Linked DNA regions of Homo sapiens: regions 1, 2, 3 and 4 are each linked to region 5. Evidence: promoter capture Hi-C in human tissues and cell types (Jung and others, 2019). All regions are on one chromosome and are shown on one strand. Each heading gives the region's core, a stretch centred on a gene start or on the middle of the fragment in contact. The rest is flanking DNA. Distances are from core to core; before and after follow the strand shown.

Region 1 (2,700 bases), core at 83-2,582, 760 kb after region 5:
TTTTCTGCCTTAATAAATATTTATTGGACTGATATGAATCTTGAAGTAGCAAGGTGGGGTGGAGGATGGTTGAATACAGCAGTGTCAAAGAATAAACCAATACACGTTTATTCTCTGCCTTCATGGATAATATATAAAATCCTGTGCAGAATAGAATAGATAATGGCCAATATAATAAGTGAGAGGAATGGAGACTCAGGGGTTTTGAGAGTGTGTAGCAGGGCTTTTAGCTGAGTTTTGAGTGGACATACAAGTTGTCTCAAAGAAGTGACGAGCTGAGGCTAAGTGACTCATTTGTCATGGATCAATGTTCCTAGCCTTCAGCGATAGACGATTCCTTACCGTCTCAACTACGCACTTCTCAACATTATGGCTGACCCTGCTGGGATAGTCCTGAGGACTGCTTCTATATATCCCAACTTTCCCTTCATTCTAGACAAGGAGATGAATTGTACTTTCATGCCACCTCAGAGTTAAGTTGGGCAATGTGATTCTCTTTGGCTAACAGAATGTAAGAGAAATGATATATATCATCTCTAGGCAGAACTTTTAATAACTGGCTAATGCTCTGTCACATTTTTTCCTCCTTCTATCATGCCACATAGAGGGGATGCCACGTCCTGGGTCATCCTGGGTTCTGGTCTGAGGACTACAGAAAGTGGAGCAGAGCCCCCTCAGCTAGGCAATGATAGATGTGGAAGGCGAGTAAGAAATAAACCATTTTTTTTTTTTTTTTTTTTTTTTTTTGCTTTAAGCCATCAAGATCATGAGATGGTTCACTTCCACAAGATAACCTAGACTATTCTGACTGATGCATCTGCCCACACTTCGGCTTATGTTATCTCACATTCGCCAGCACAACGTTAACACCCAGTCAAAGCACCTTTAGGTCAAAATATGAGATTAGTTCCTGTATATGGTATTAAAATGTGGCATTATGTTTTTGAGGTTTGTATTATTTATCGACAAGGAAATATATAGCATTGATATGGCTTGGCTGTGTCCCCACCCAAATCTCATTTTGACTTGTAGTTCCCATAATTCACACATCTCATGGAGGAACCAGGTGGGAGGTAATTAAATCATGGGGGCAGTTACCTCCATGCTTCTCTCATGATAGTGAGTCAGTTCTCTTGAGATTTGATGGTTTTATAAGGGACTTTTCCCCTTTTGCTTGGCACTTCTCCTTTCTGCCACCATGTGAAGAAGGACTGTTTGCTTCCCCTTCTGCCATGATTGTAAGTTTCCTGAGGCCTCCCCAGCCATGCTGAACTGTGAGTCAATTAAAACTCTTTCCTTTATAAATTACACAGCCTCAGGTATGTCTTTGTTTTGCAGTGCAAGAACGAACTAATACAAGCATCATAATTAAAAGCATGTAATCTTTGCCATTCTGGGTTTGAATCTTGGATCTTCTACTTATTACCTATGTAGCCCTAGTAAAGTTATTTAACTTTTCTGTTTCTCACTTTCTTCATCTTTCAAATGAATACAACGATGAGGCTACCCTGTATGTATACTATAAGAATTAAATGAGAACAGTGCCTGGCACATAGTAAGCATGATATAAAGATGAGCAATTATTATCATAATCCTAAGATTCTATGTGAAAAAATTCACCTTCTTAGCGAGTTTTGTTGCTTACCACATTATATCTCAGAGGAAAAGTTGAAATAATCTACTTTAAATATTATTTTTTGTTTAAATCAAAACCTGAAAAATGACCAAGAGTGAGTTTATCATTACTATAGTGCCCAGATCATTTGAAAACTTTCACCTCCTAAATGTGACTTTGCTTCCTGGAAGATGCTGCAGAGGTAGGCAGATGATTAAGGCACCAGACATTCTAGTGAAGCCCAGCAATCTTCTAGACCCAGAGGTGATAGAAAAGCAGGAATTTCTGGGCAGGTCACCTAGGAAAAGAGGCCAAGTCCTCAGCAGTGCCCTCATCAGCCCTGATGTGAGTCACTGTCTTGTTTCAGGGCACAGAGCAACAGTGATGTAAACAGAATGATTACTGAGGGGAAAAGTCCGAAGCAGGAGAAGTGATGCCACTGTAGGAGACCTTAGGATCCCAGATGCCTACAATACAAAAAGCCACATTTCATCCAAATCTGTAGCTAAAATAATCAGTTTTAACACATTTCCTTCAAGCAGTTTCGTCAACATATCTATACAGTGTATATAAATATCCCACAGCCATTCATCATCTCTTTCCCATGACATTTGCAATCTCGTGTTTTATGCAGCCAGCTATTATGTTAAACCTGGCCAATTTTGCATTTAGGCAGCATTGTGAAGTGTCATAGCATTTGATGGAATGGCAAGATTGTAAATTGCAATCTGGTCTGTGGGAAAAAATATTTTAAAAACATTAAATTTGTTTTAGTTGCTTAGCTTTCTCCCTCCCCAACCCACCACCTCAATTCTTCATATAACAAGACTTAATGAGAGGAAGATCGCAGTGCTTAAGATGTATTGTTTTCTTTCCTTTTCTTCTTCTTCTTTTTTTTCATCTATAACTGGAAAAAGAAGAGTAGCAGATTCACCTTCCAAGCTGGGGTGGATGGGAGACAGTCTTTGCATAATTCCATTGCATTACTTTAATGGTAAATATATCCTAAAAGAAGACCAGCCTTATACTGTGTTCGGCTGAAATAGCCCGTTTTGAAAATATACTGGGTGGCTCCTTTGCACTTG
Region 2 (2,700 bases), core at 8-2,507, 770 kb after region 5:
TGGAAAAGTCATGCGAACCACACTGGGCTGGACAGCTTACAAATATATGAAGATATTTTATGTGATTCTTAGCACTATTAAGAATCGTTTTATATTTTATAAAGTAGTGGGGCAGCGTGTTAACATTTGGAAAATCTGCACAGCTCAGTGAACCAATATTTTCCAAATGAGTAATACATAATTTCAAAATATCATGCCTTGGCAAAACAATTATGCCAGATAGACCAATAAATTTCAATGTAAAAAAAAACAATGAAAAGTTCACTGATAGGGTTGTAAATATTGGCACGTTCCAAATACTCTTTAAGAAACGCACTTGTAGACTTTTGTATAGTGTCAAAAAAGATCCATACCTCAAACTGTATACAAAAATTAAGTTAAAATGAATCATAGACCTAAATGTAAACCCAAAGCTATAAAACTGCTAGAACAAAACAGAGAAGAAAACTTCATGACTCTGGTTAGGCAAAGACCTCTTAAATAAGACACCAAAAGCACAATCCGTTTGTTAAAATGATACATTGGGATTTGTAAGAACTGAAACCTCTGCTTTTTTGAAACATGGGTAAGGAAATGAAAGATAAATATTTTCAAATTATATACCTGATAATGGGCTTACCATCAGACTATATCAAGTATTTTCAAAACTCAAAGGAAAAATATTCAGTTAAAAAATGAGCAAGAAAGGAGATGGAGCAAGATGGCTGAATAGAAGCCTTCACCAGTCATCCTCCCTGCAGGAACACCAAATTGAACAACTATCCACACACAAAAATTACCTTCATAAGAACCAAAATCAGGTGAGTGATCACTGTACCTGGTTTTATGCTCATATTACTGAAAAAGGCAAGGAAGAGGAAAGGAAAGACAGTCTTGAATTGCTGTCACCACCCCTCCTGCACCCCCCAGCAGCAGCTGCATAGTGTGGAGCAAGAATCTGTGTGCTTGGGGGACAGAAGGCACAGTGATTGTGAGATTTTCCATTAGAACTTGGTGCTGCCCTGTCACAGTGGAAAACAACCCTGGCCAGAACTCAGCCAGCACTCACAGAGGAAGCATTTAGACCAGCCCTCACCAGAAAGAAATTGCCCTTCCCAGACGTCAGAACCTGAATTCTGGTAAGCCTCACCAATGCAAGCTAAAGTGCTCTTGGATTCTAAATAAACTTGAAAGGCAGTGTAGGCCACAAGGACTGCAATTCCTGGGCAAGTTCTGGTGCTGTGCTTCGCTCACAGCCAGTGGATTTAGGGGTATGCAACCTAATGAGATAATAGCTGGGGCAGCCAAGGGAGTACTTGCACCACCCCTCCCACCACCTCAGGCAGTGCAGCTCACAGCTCTAGGAGAGACTCTTTCCCTCTCCTTGAGGAGAGGACAAGGAAAAGTAAAGAGGACTTTATCTTGCAACTTAGATACCACCTCAGCCACAGTAGGACAGAGCACCAGGCAGAATCCTGAGGCCCGCATTCCAGGCCGTACCTTCTAGACAACATTTCTAGACATGTACTAGGCCAGAAGGGAACCTGCTATCTTGAAGTAAAGTACTTAGTCCTGGCAGGATTCATCAGCTGCTGATTAAAGAGCCCTTGGGCCCTGAATAGTCAACAGTGGTAGCCAGGAAGTACTCACCATGGGCCTTGGGTAAGACTCAGAGACAAGCTGGCTTCAAGCATGACCTAGCATATTCCAAGCCATAGTGGCTACAGGGAGAGCAACCTTCTGCTTGAGAAAAGGGGAGGGAAGAGTGAAGGAGACTTTGTCTTGCAGCTTCCTTACCAGCTCTGTCACAGTTAGGTAGAGTACCAAGCAGGATCTTGGGGTCCCTGATTCTAGGCCTTAGCTCTTGGAAAGAATTTCTGGACCTGCTCTGCTCTGGGTCAGAGAGCATCCTACTGTCCTGAAGGGAGAGTCTCAGACCTGGTAGCATTCAGCACAAGCTGACTAAAGAGCCCTTGGGCCTTGAGTGAACATTGGCAGTAGCCAGGCAGTACTTGCTATGGGCCTGGATCTATGCCAGCCACAGAGAGAGACTCCTCTGCTTGTGGAAAAGAGAGGAAAGAGTGGGAAGGACTTCATCTTGTGGCTTGGATGCCAGTTCAGCCTCAGTAGAATAGAGCAACAGGTAGATTTCTAAGGGTTTCAACTCTGGGCCCTGCTCCTGTATGGCATCTCTGAACCTACTGGGGCCAGGGGCAACTCATCACCCTGAAGGGAAGAAAACGGCATGGCTAGTTTTGCCACCTGCTAATTATAGAACCCTAGGGCCTTGAGTGAACGTAAGTGGTAGCCAGGCAGGCCTTGGGTGAGACTCAGTGCTGTGCTGGCTTCAGGTCTGACCCAGCACAGTCCCAGTGGTGGTGGCCAGAGGGTGCTTTTGTCACCCCTCCCCCAGCTCCAGGCAGCTCAGCGCAGAAAGAGACAGAAAGAGAGATAGCAGGGTGGAGAGAGAGAGACTCTTTGTTTAGGAGAAAATAAGGGAAGAGAATAAGAGTCTGTGCCTGGTATTCTAGAGAATTATTCTAGATCTTAACTAAGACCATCAGGGCAGCATCTCTATGAGTTTGCGCAAGCCACAGCATTATTGAGCTTGGGGTACTCCCTAATGCAAATATGGCTGCAGTGATCAAAAACTTAGATTACAACACCCAAATCCCTATGAATACCTGGAAAGCCTTCCCAAGAAGGGTGAGTACAAACAAG
Region 3 (2,700 bases), core at 177-2,676, 590 kb after region 5:
AAAGAGTGATAATATGGGCTTGGACTTCCTGAACATCGTCAGTCAGGTCTCTCTAATCTCTTTCCAGAGAGCCAGAATAAGACCTGTAAGTGAGTTAACATTGAAGATGATTTATAATACCTCCTCTGTATATAATTAAAAATAGACAAAATTAAACATAAAATAGGTACAAAGTAATTGAAATAAATCTTCTCATGAATATTTTAATACTTCAAATTTGAAGGTACCCCCTTTTTCCTGATGTTCTCAATATGCTTGCCAACACTGTCCTATTCCCACAGGATGAACATCCAAACTCCATCCAAGTCATAGGTGATTCCAGAGAGAAATCTTCTATGAAATTCTTCCATCTGTCATATTTTGAATTTTGCATTTTTACCTTTTATACTGAAAATTATTCCTGTTATTTCATTTACCAAATAGTGTATTCTTTATTTATGGTTATAAGTGGATATCATAGATACACTTATAACAAGTTACTAACAACATTAAAACCCATAAATTAATCTCATTCAGTGGTAAACACATAATGTTGCATTCTAGTTTTCCAAAAGAGATAAAAGAAATGGTTAATAAAATTGAGATACTCATGGATGTCTCTAATACCAGCTGACTTGGAAAGGTAAACATCTCAGTCACAACTGAAACTTAGCATGTGAGTTAGAGGAATGTAATATTAAATTCCTCTCTTAAACCCTTCAGATCATTATCCCCATTTCACTTTTAGGTAAAGTAACATCAGTGATGTTTTTCATTTGATTATTTCTTTGATTACATTCATAAATAGAATGGCAATGGATATGTCCAGTGTGGAAGCATTTGAATAAATAGTTGCTGAAATTGCTTTATAGGAAAATAGATCTAGTATCATTCCATGCTGAAAATATTGTTATATGTCCTATACAGAGTCTCGGAGTAATAAGTATCATTTAGTCTTGTGGTGATATATTTGCTCATTTATTCTTTAACTGTGTTCAACAAATACTTATTGAGTGACCACTGTGTGCTAAGCCTCTAGGCTCTGGGGCTACATCAGTGAACAAAACATACAAAACCTCTGCCCTCAGGAGCTTATAATCTGGTATAACTTCCATGGTACTTTGCATTTATATATACATATCTCCAGGTGCCCTCAGTCCAGGGAGAAGGCACTACTGGTTTGTTCTCTAGGACTTTATCTTATTAAACAGATGAGGTTAAAAACACTCTACCACTCAAAATGAAACAATGGGTATCTCCCAATACATGGTAAGATGCCATGGGCATCGCAAGATTTAATAATATTTAATAATTTAATAATAAATTGTTACTATTAGAATAGAATATGAAAGGGGGAAAGATAATACCAAGATGTGAAGAATAAATTTTTCAAGCAAAGAGAGTGGCTGGGAATGAGAGAGGAATTGATACAATAAAATGGGTACCAAAAAAACACAAAAGGAATAATGAATAAGACCTGCTATTTGATTAAAAAAAAAAAAAAGAAAAGAAAAAAAGAGATTCAATGAGGCTTGGAAAAAGTCTGTCACCTAGATTTGATGAAGGGCATCGGCTGACTAGTAGAGATACATAAGGGGAATAGTTTTAATGAAACACGATGAGTCAGAACTGTGATTTCAGTCATGTCATTCTGCCTTACTTAAAGGGAAGAAGGTCTAGAATCAGAGTTGCTGATGGAGAGTATGTTTCAGCAATTCAGGCCAGAGATCATTAAGAATGTGTATAGATGGAAAGGAATAAATAACTATTACAGATATTGTTGAATTAGAATTATGTGTGGGAGAGTGGGAGGTGTATGAGGCATCAAAGATGACCAAAAACTTGCTTCTGATGCATCAAAGATAGTGGCATTTCCCACAGTGATGGAAAGGTTACATTTAAAAGATGAATTCTATTTGTTTAAATTTATTTTTAACTTTAATACAGGCATTATTTAGTCTTTCTTATGGAGAAGTATTAATTATCATCAGAACATTAGAACTTTATGATTTTTGTAAGTTGTGGTGAAAATACAAAAAGGCATTAGAGAATGATTTTACTTTTTTATCTGGAAAAGGAACAGTTAACTGTTTTATTAACAGTAGTGGTTGATACTTCCATAGATCTGATAAAATAAATATGGGCCTTTGATTTTTATTCATATCTCTGATATAATTATTTAATATATCCCTAAATATAACTCTAAATACACATAATAAAGAAAATTATAATGATGGTTTTAACATTTATAGTGTAGTGTTCCTGCTTTGAAATTTTGCTCAAAGAAATTAACAGTTTGTATAAATTGCATTGTAATTTAAATAATATAAATAAATGTAATTATAATTTTTCAGTAATTTCTGATAATTATTTACTTTTTTCTAGAACACATTATGGTAGAATTCAATTCAAACATATTCAGTGCTTACCAATAATGATGACGTCTAAGAACAACGATAATATAATTACTCCAAATAATAGCTAACAATTGTGTACATTCACTGTGTACCTACCATTGGGCTGTTTTACCTCATTTAATAATAGATGATTGTCCCTGCTTTATTGATTGAGATACTGTGTCACAGAGAGTTTTTTTTTTTTAATTATAACCAGGTTTGCATTAAGCCAGATTTTGAACCCAACAATTTCAACCAATATGTTATGCAATACTAGAGTGGGCGTTGAAATGTGGAAAAAAAAGAATTTAAAAAAAAACTGTTT
Region 4 (2,700 bases), core at 64-2,563, 700 kb after region 5:
TTAGTGACATCCCTCTCCTATTAGAATACTTGCTCAAGTTAAGAGTTCCAAATTTATAATAACAAAGAAGAAAGGATAAGCATTTTTAAAGTTTTTTGCACAGATTACCAAATTTCACTTTGGGAAGGTTTTACTGACTTTTATTTGTACCAGCAAAGTACGCGAGGGTTTGTTTCACTGCACCCTTGAAAATGTGGGGCATATTATTCTTTGAGTTGTGAAATTTGCATTTGTAGTCTATGTGATGTGTGAGATAAAGATCTAGGCTTCCTAACAAGGAAGCAGTTTTCTCAGAACAAGTAAATGACTAAAGCTTCGTTTCTATATTGAATTGAAATGCTACCTTATCCTATATTTCTATTACAGAGCTTTAGAACTTCATATTTTTCCCATCAGTATGGGAAAATTTTTATTCTTACATCAGGACCATGATATTTTAATTATGGTGGTTTTTTGCTTGGTTTAAATATATGCTTTTGGTAGTCAGCGTATCCATCTTTAATTGCATCTAAACATTTCTCTCTATCACAACTATGATATAAATCCCTGCAGCATTTTGTGTATGTTTTCATAATATAGATGTACAGGAGGGGCAGCTTTACACATGACTTTTTAATAGACATGTAATAATAAAAGAGGACACTTAATCCTAATACTCAAAATACTACATTTTTCTGCCATTCTGTTATGTGCTGATTTATCTTTACAATATTTATGATATGAGGTTCAGTGGGACAGCAAGAACTGTTGAGTCCCTGCATTCAGCATGGTACCAAACCCGGGGACATAATAGAAAGACATTAGAAATGAGAAAAAGTAAAGAAATAGAATTCAAGGGCTCCACTCTTAAAGACTACAATATAAGTGATAATTTATGTTTAGGAAACAGACTCAAGAATTTAAGTTTAGAACACATACTAACAAACAGGTAAAAACACCCAATTAGGCCAGGCACAATAGCTTACGCCTGTAATCCCTACATTTTGGCAGGCCAAGGCAGAAGGATCACTTGAGTCCAGGAGTTTGAGACCAGCCTGGGCAATATGGTGAGACCCCATCTGTACCAAAAGAAAAAAAAAAAAAAAGCTGGGCACGATGGCACACACCTGTAGTCCTAGCTACTAGAGAGGCTAAGGTGGGAAGATCACTTGAGCTTGGGAGGTTAAGGCTGTAGTGAGCAGTGATCATGCCACTGCACTCTAGCCTGAGTGACAGAGTAAGATCCGGCCTCAAAAAAATAAAAACCAAAAAACAAAAAACAAAAAACCCACTCAATTAGTCAGAGAAAATGAAATGAGCTTGTATTAGTCTTTTTTTTTTCTTTTCTTTTCTTTTTTGAGATGGAGTCTCGCTCTGTCACCCAGGCTGGAGTGCAGTGGCTTGATCTCGGCTCGCTGCAAGCTCCGCCTCCCGGGTTCACGCCATTCTCCTGCCTCAGCCTCCCTAGTAGCTGGGACTACAGGCGCCACCATGCCCGGCTAATTTTTTTTTGTATTTTTAGTAGAGATGGGGTTTCACCGTGTTAGCCAGAATGGTCTCGATCTCTTGACCTCGTGATCTGCCCGCCTCGGCCTCCCAAAGTGCTGGGATTACAGGTATGAGCCACCACGCCTGGCCATGAGCTTGTATTAGTCTTTAGGCTGCTGTAACAAAGTACCACAAGCTTAAACAACCAAAAATTATTATTATGCAGTTCTGGAGGCTAGCAGTGAAATCAAGGTGTTGGAAGAGCCGTATTCCTGCTCCTGGCTTCTGGTTGTTGCAGACAATCTTCGATTTTGGTTTGCAGCTGTAAAGGAAGCTCTGCCTTCATCATCACATGACCATCTTCTCTCTGTGCATCTATCTCATCATATAGCATTCTTCTCTCTGTGTGCTTTCTCCTTGTTTTAAAAGGACACCAGTCATATTGGATTAAGGGTCCGTCCTGTTCCAGTATGACCTCATTTTAATTAATTACAACTGAAATTATCCTACCTATAAATAAGGTTACATTATGATGCCCTGCGGCTTAGGACTTCGATATATCTTTTTAGGAAACACAACTCAATTCATAACAGTTATCTTTAAGTCAAGGGGTGAGTAAATAACACTGTAGAAGTAGTGTGGGATGGAATTCCAATCGCTGCCTTCCCAACAAGTAATAAGTGCACATTCAGTTTAGAGGAAGTTATCTTTCACTGGGCAATCAGCTTTGAGACAATTTTATCTGATGATTAAGATTCAAGAGACTATGCCATTATCAATAGGACTTAGAAAGGGTGGATGAAGGAAAGAATTCATAATTAACTCTGCAAAGTTTATGATCCTAGAGAACCGAAAGAAGACAATGCCAGCTACATGAATGAGTAGTACACTTTACCCATGACTTTGCTGCATATATACTCGGTTTTGTTCTTCTATCAGTATTAGTAATAGACTGCCTTATTATAGGTCATCGTTGGGCTAATGTAAATTATTTTTCCTGCAGTTTATCTTGCTAGTTAGACGTCTTTATTTCGTTCTACCACAACACTTGCATCTGTGAACAAAAAGTGTTTGGTGAGCTCATGACTTGTCTGACCATCTGCCACTCACTCAGGAAATTGCTGCATTTATGCAAATACCCACCCAGTAATTTGTGAGCAAGAAGCCAAGGTGTTTGATTAAAGTAATTAATTTTCTCACGTCATCCTTAAAATGAGCAAGATGCAGAACCAG
Region 5 (2,700 bases), core at 85-2,584:
GCTCCCTAAACCATCCTCTTATCAATCGCGACACTTCACCCCAATGAGTCAGTTCCTCAGTGGATCTCAACAAATAATCTTCACTTCCTGGAAAAGTTAGGATTGCTTTCCTTAGCTGCCAGGGCTAAAAAGGAAACTTGGTCCTAAATATCCACGCCCCAGGGGCAGCCACTTGGGCCAGCATGTTGCGCCCTTCAGCTTTCCGCCCGCAGGTGGCAGCAGCGGGCTCCGAAGCCTGTCTCTGCAGGTAGCAGCCGCTTCACAGCTTTCAGGCCGGTGCTCAGCGGAGGCTGGTGCATCTCCACTAGGAATCCACACCCAGCTGGGACTGCTGTGAAGCTGAAGTAACTGAGTATTAAACTAGTCTCCGACTCTTTAGTATTTTAAGTGAAAACAAACAACAGTTTGAAGCAGCAACAGCAACTCATTGCATCCCTATTCCCTCCGGTTGCTAATTTTTCCCAACTCCAGCAGCAACTCGGTCCCCTTCCCCAAGCAGGGTCGGCTCCGTAGCTCTCCGCGCTCCGACCCTTCAGATCCTCGGGAGCCCAGGGGAGCCAGGTGCTGGGCGGTGCGTCCGGTGCCGCCGCGCCCCTTCTCGCCACCTCTGGCCTCTCCGCCACTCGGGCTTTCCGGCCGCTCTGGATGCCTCGGTTGCACCCCTGTTCCATGACCCCAGCTTCCTTCCCTAACCCTCCTCTTGGTCCCTTCTCCCCCGAGCGCGCGCGCACACACACACTCGGTTCGCTCCCGCGGAGTGGCTCTGGGAGCACGACCGACTTCAGCTCAGCAAACCGCGGTCATGCCGCCCAGACTCCTCGCCCCGAGGCCCCGGTCCCCGCCGCCGCCGCTTTCGCGCCGCTCCTTTCCGCCTAGACACCGCCGCCTGCGGCCGCCTGGGCGGCAGCCCCTGCGGTCCTCAAAGTTGGCCCCCTGGGAGGGGGCGGCAGGGAGCAGGATGAAGGATTTGTTGTAGGAGGAGGATTCACACATCTGGGCGAAGGGAGGGGCAGCGCCGCTGCTGGGACGCGGCGCGGACCCGCATCATTGCGCGCAGCAGCCGCTGCAGCAGCCGCCGGGGACCGCGGAGCCGGGACGCCCCCGCTCGGCCCGCGCCCCGCTCCCCGCCCCACCCCCGCCCGCCGGGCCCAGCAACGCAGGGTGCCTAGGAGCCGCGGGCTGCGCAGGGAGGCGGGCAGCGGCCCTCGCGCGCTTCTGCCGCCCCCGGAGCCGGCGCGCGGCGAGCGCAGGGCGAGCGCGCGTCGGGCGGCGGCCGCGCTGGGGGGCGTGAGGCGAGCGGCGCGGAGAGCGGCAGGGGCGAAACTTCGCGGGCCAGATGCCCGAGGGCGCGGCGGCGCTGCCAGGCTGCCGCTGCTGCCCCTGCGGGCCCCGAGCGCGCCTCCGCAGGCGGCACTGCCCGCGGCGCGGCGTGTGCACCGAGCGAGTGAAGGTATGTGTGGCGGGCGCGGCTGGAGCTGCCGCCGCCGCCGCCGCCGCGCCAGCAGGTCCTAATGCCTGTCACTTCCCAGGACGCTGGCAGCAGCAGCAGCCCGGAGCCCCCGAGCCCTCGGCAGGTTTGCGTGTCCTTCCCCGCGATCTGATTGGATAAAGTGGGGGCTCGACGGTGGCCGACGTGGGACAGTCTGGCTGTGGCAGGGGTCTCGGAAACCATGGGTTATTGCAGTGGCAGGTGCACGCTTATCTTTATCTGTGGCATGCAACTGGTAAGTGACACTTGGGTCCCCTTATTCTGTAATGTGTCTTTGAGATAGTGGGCAGGGGAGTGCAGCAAAGGGTCTGCCATTGACTAGAATGGACGAAAAAGATAAAAGAGAAGGTGACAGATATATTGCCTATATTGAAGATGATTTCAGGGAGACGCACTCTGGGGTACAGGAGAGGTGAGCCTTTCCGTTCCCACCTATTTCTGTCCCTTTTAAGACAGTTTGGCAGGTGCGGGTTAAACTTGTCTTTAATTTCTTTAGGAAAAGCAAGATGTAGCTCTTGTTCTTTATGCTTTGCATTCCTATTCATGTAACAACGTGATTGTCACCTACAATTTACCGTACAGGTTGTTAAACAGAGGAATACGGAATTTTGGACTTTTCTTCTCTATACTAATTTTGCAGTATCTTTGTTTCTTCATAGACATGTTTTTTTTCTTTTTTTAAGGAAAATGTTGTCTTTAAGTATAATGCTCTAAAAAAACCACTGTTTAGGGCACATGGTATCCTTACAACAGTCTAATTTAGACTGTTTGAGTTTTAGCCACATTGAGTTTTTAAAGTATGCAGATTGAACAAAAATACTTAGGTGAACTCAGCAACACCATTGTCATAGACGGAACCAGTAACCTTTAAATCACAATTAACACAGACAATTCCAAGAAAAACTATTCTGTCTTACATTATGCATATTATTGCTCCTGAAATAGATACTGTTGTCTGATCCTATAGGATGGAGAATTCTATGTACTTTTTGAGGAATGTTGTACAGTTGCAAAGGGGCAAGGAACCAATAATGGAAAACGTCATGTCTCTGAATTTCAATTCCCTAAGGGCAATGGAAGGAGGGTCTGAGTAGAGAGTTGAGAGGTGAAAAATACACCACTCTAAGTGGTTAATTTGAGGTAGGAGCTACTTGCTCACACTTGTCATTAAATATATTTCCTTAGAAAGTATAAATTAACTGGAATAGTCA

The links. The method cuts DNA at HindIII sites, captures the fragments that hold promoters and counts their contacts. A contact is called where the count stands out against the background at its distance.
Region 1: a fragment that was not itself captured here is called in contact with the fragment with the promoter of NKAIN2 in region 5 in 3 of the 25 tissues and cell types used here (dorsolateral prefrontal cortex, hippocampus and mesenchymal stem cells).
Region 2: a fragment that was not itself captured here is called in contact with the fragment with the promoter of NKAIN2 in region 5 in 2 of the 25 tissues and cell types used here (dorsolateral prefrontal cortex and mesenchymal stem cells).
Region 3: a fragment that was not itself captured here is called in contact with the fragment with the promoter of NKAIN2 in region 5 in 1 of the 25 tissues and cell types used here (spleen).
Region 4: a fragment that was not itself captured here is called in contact with the fragment with the promoter of NKAIN2 in region 5 in 1 of the 25 tissues and cell types used here (dorsolateral prefrontal cortex).

Annotation. Positions count from the first base shown.
Region 1 is chr6:124,559,115-124,561,814 of GRCh38, forward strand. All of the region lies in intron 3 of NKAIN2 (sodium/potassium transporting ATPase interacting 2), which reads left to right. Among named protein-coding and RNA genes, the nearest start is that of RNF217, 400 kb to the right of the region's middle. The HindIII fragment of the contact is 6,104 bases long and covers 1-2,700 here.
Region 2 is chr6:124,576,448-124,579,147 of GRCh38, forward strand. The region is part of intron 3 of NKAIN2 (sodium/potassium transporting ATPase interacting 2); the gene reads left to right. Among named protein-coding and RNA genes, the nearest start is that of RNF217, 380 kb to the right of the region's middle. The HindIII fragment of the contact is 6,037 bases long and covers 1-2,700 here.
Region 3 is chr6:124,394,960-124,397,659 of GRCh38, forward strand. All of the region lies in intron 3 of NKAIN2 (sodium/potassium transporting ATPase interacting 2), which reads left to right. Among named protein-coding and RNA genes, the nearest start is that of RNF217, 570 kb to the right of the region's middle. The HindIII fragment of the contact is 7,615 bases long and covers 1-2,700 here.
Region 4 is chr6:124,507,026-124,509,725 of GRCh38, forward strand. All of the region lies in intron 3 of NKAIN2 (sodium/potassium transporting ATPase interacting 2), which reads left to right. Among named protein-coding and RNA genes, the nearest start is that of RNF217, 450 kb to the right of the region's middle. The HindIII fragment of the contact is 3,829 bases long and covers 1-2,700 here.
Region 5 is chr6:123,802,531-123,805,230 of GRCh38, forward strand. It overlaps NKAIN2 (sodium/potassium transporting ATPase interacting 2), which reads left to right and starts at 1,335. Exons shown (of 7, transcript NM_001040214.3): 1 at 1,335-1,724. The coding sequence starts at 1,671. RefSeq lists an enhancer at 91-140. The HindIII fragment of the contact is 12,261 bases long and covers 1-2,700 here.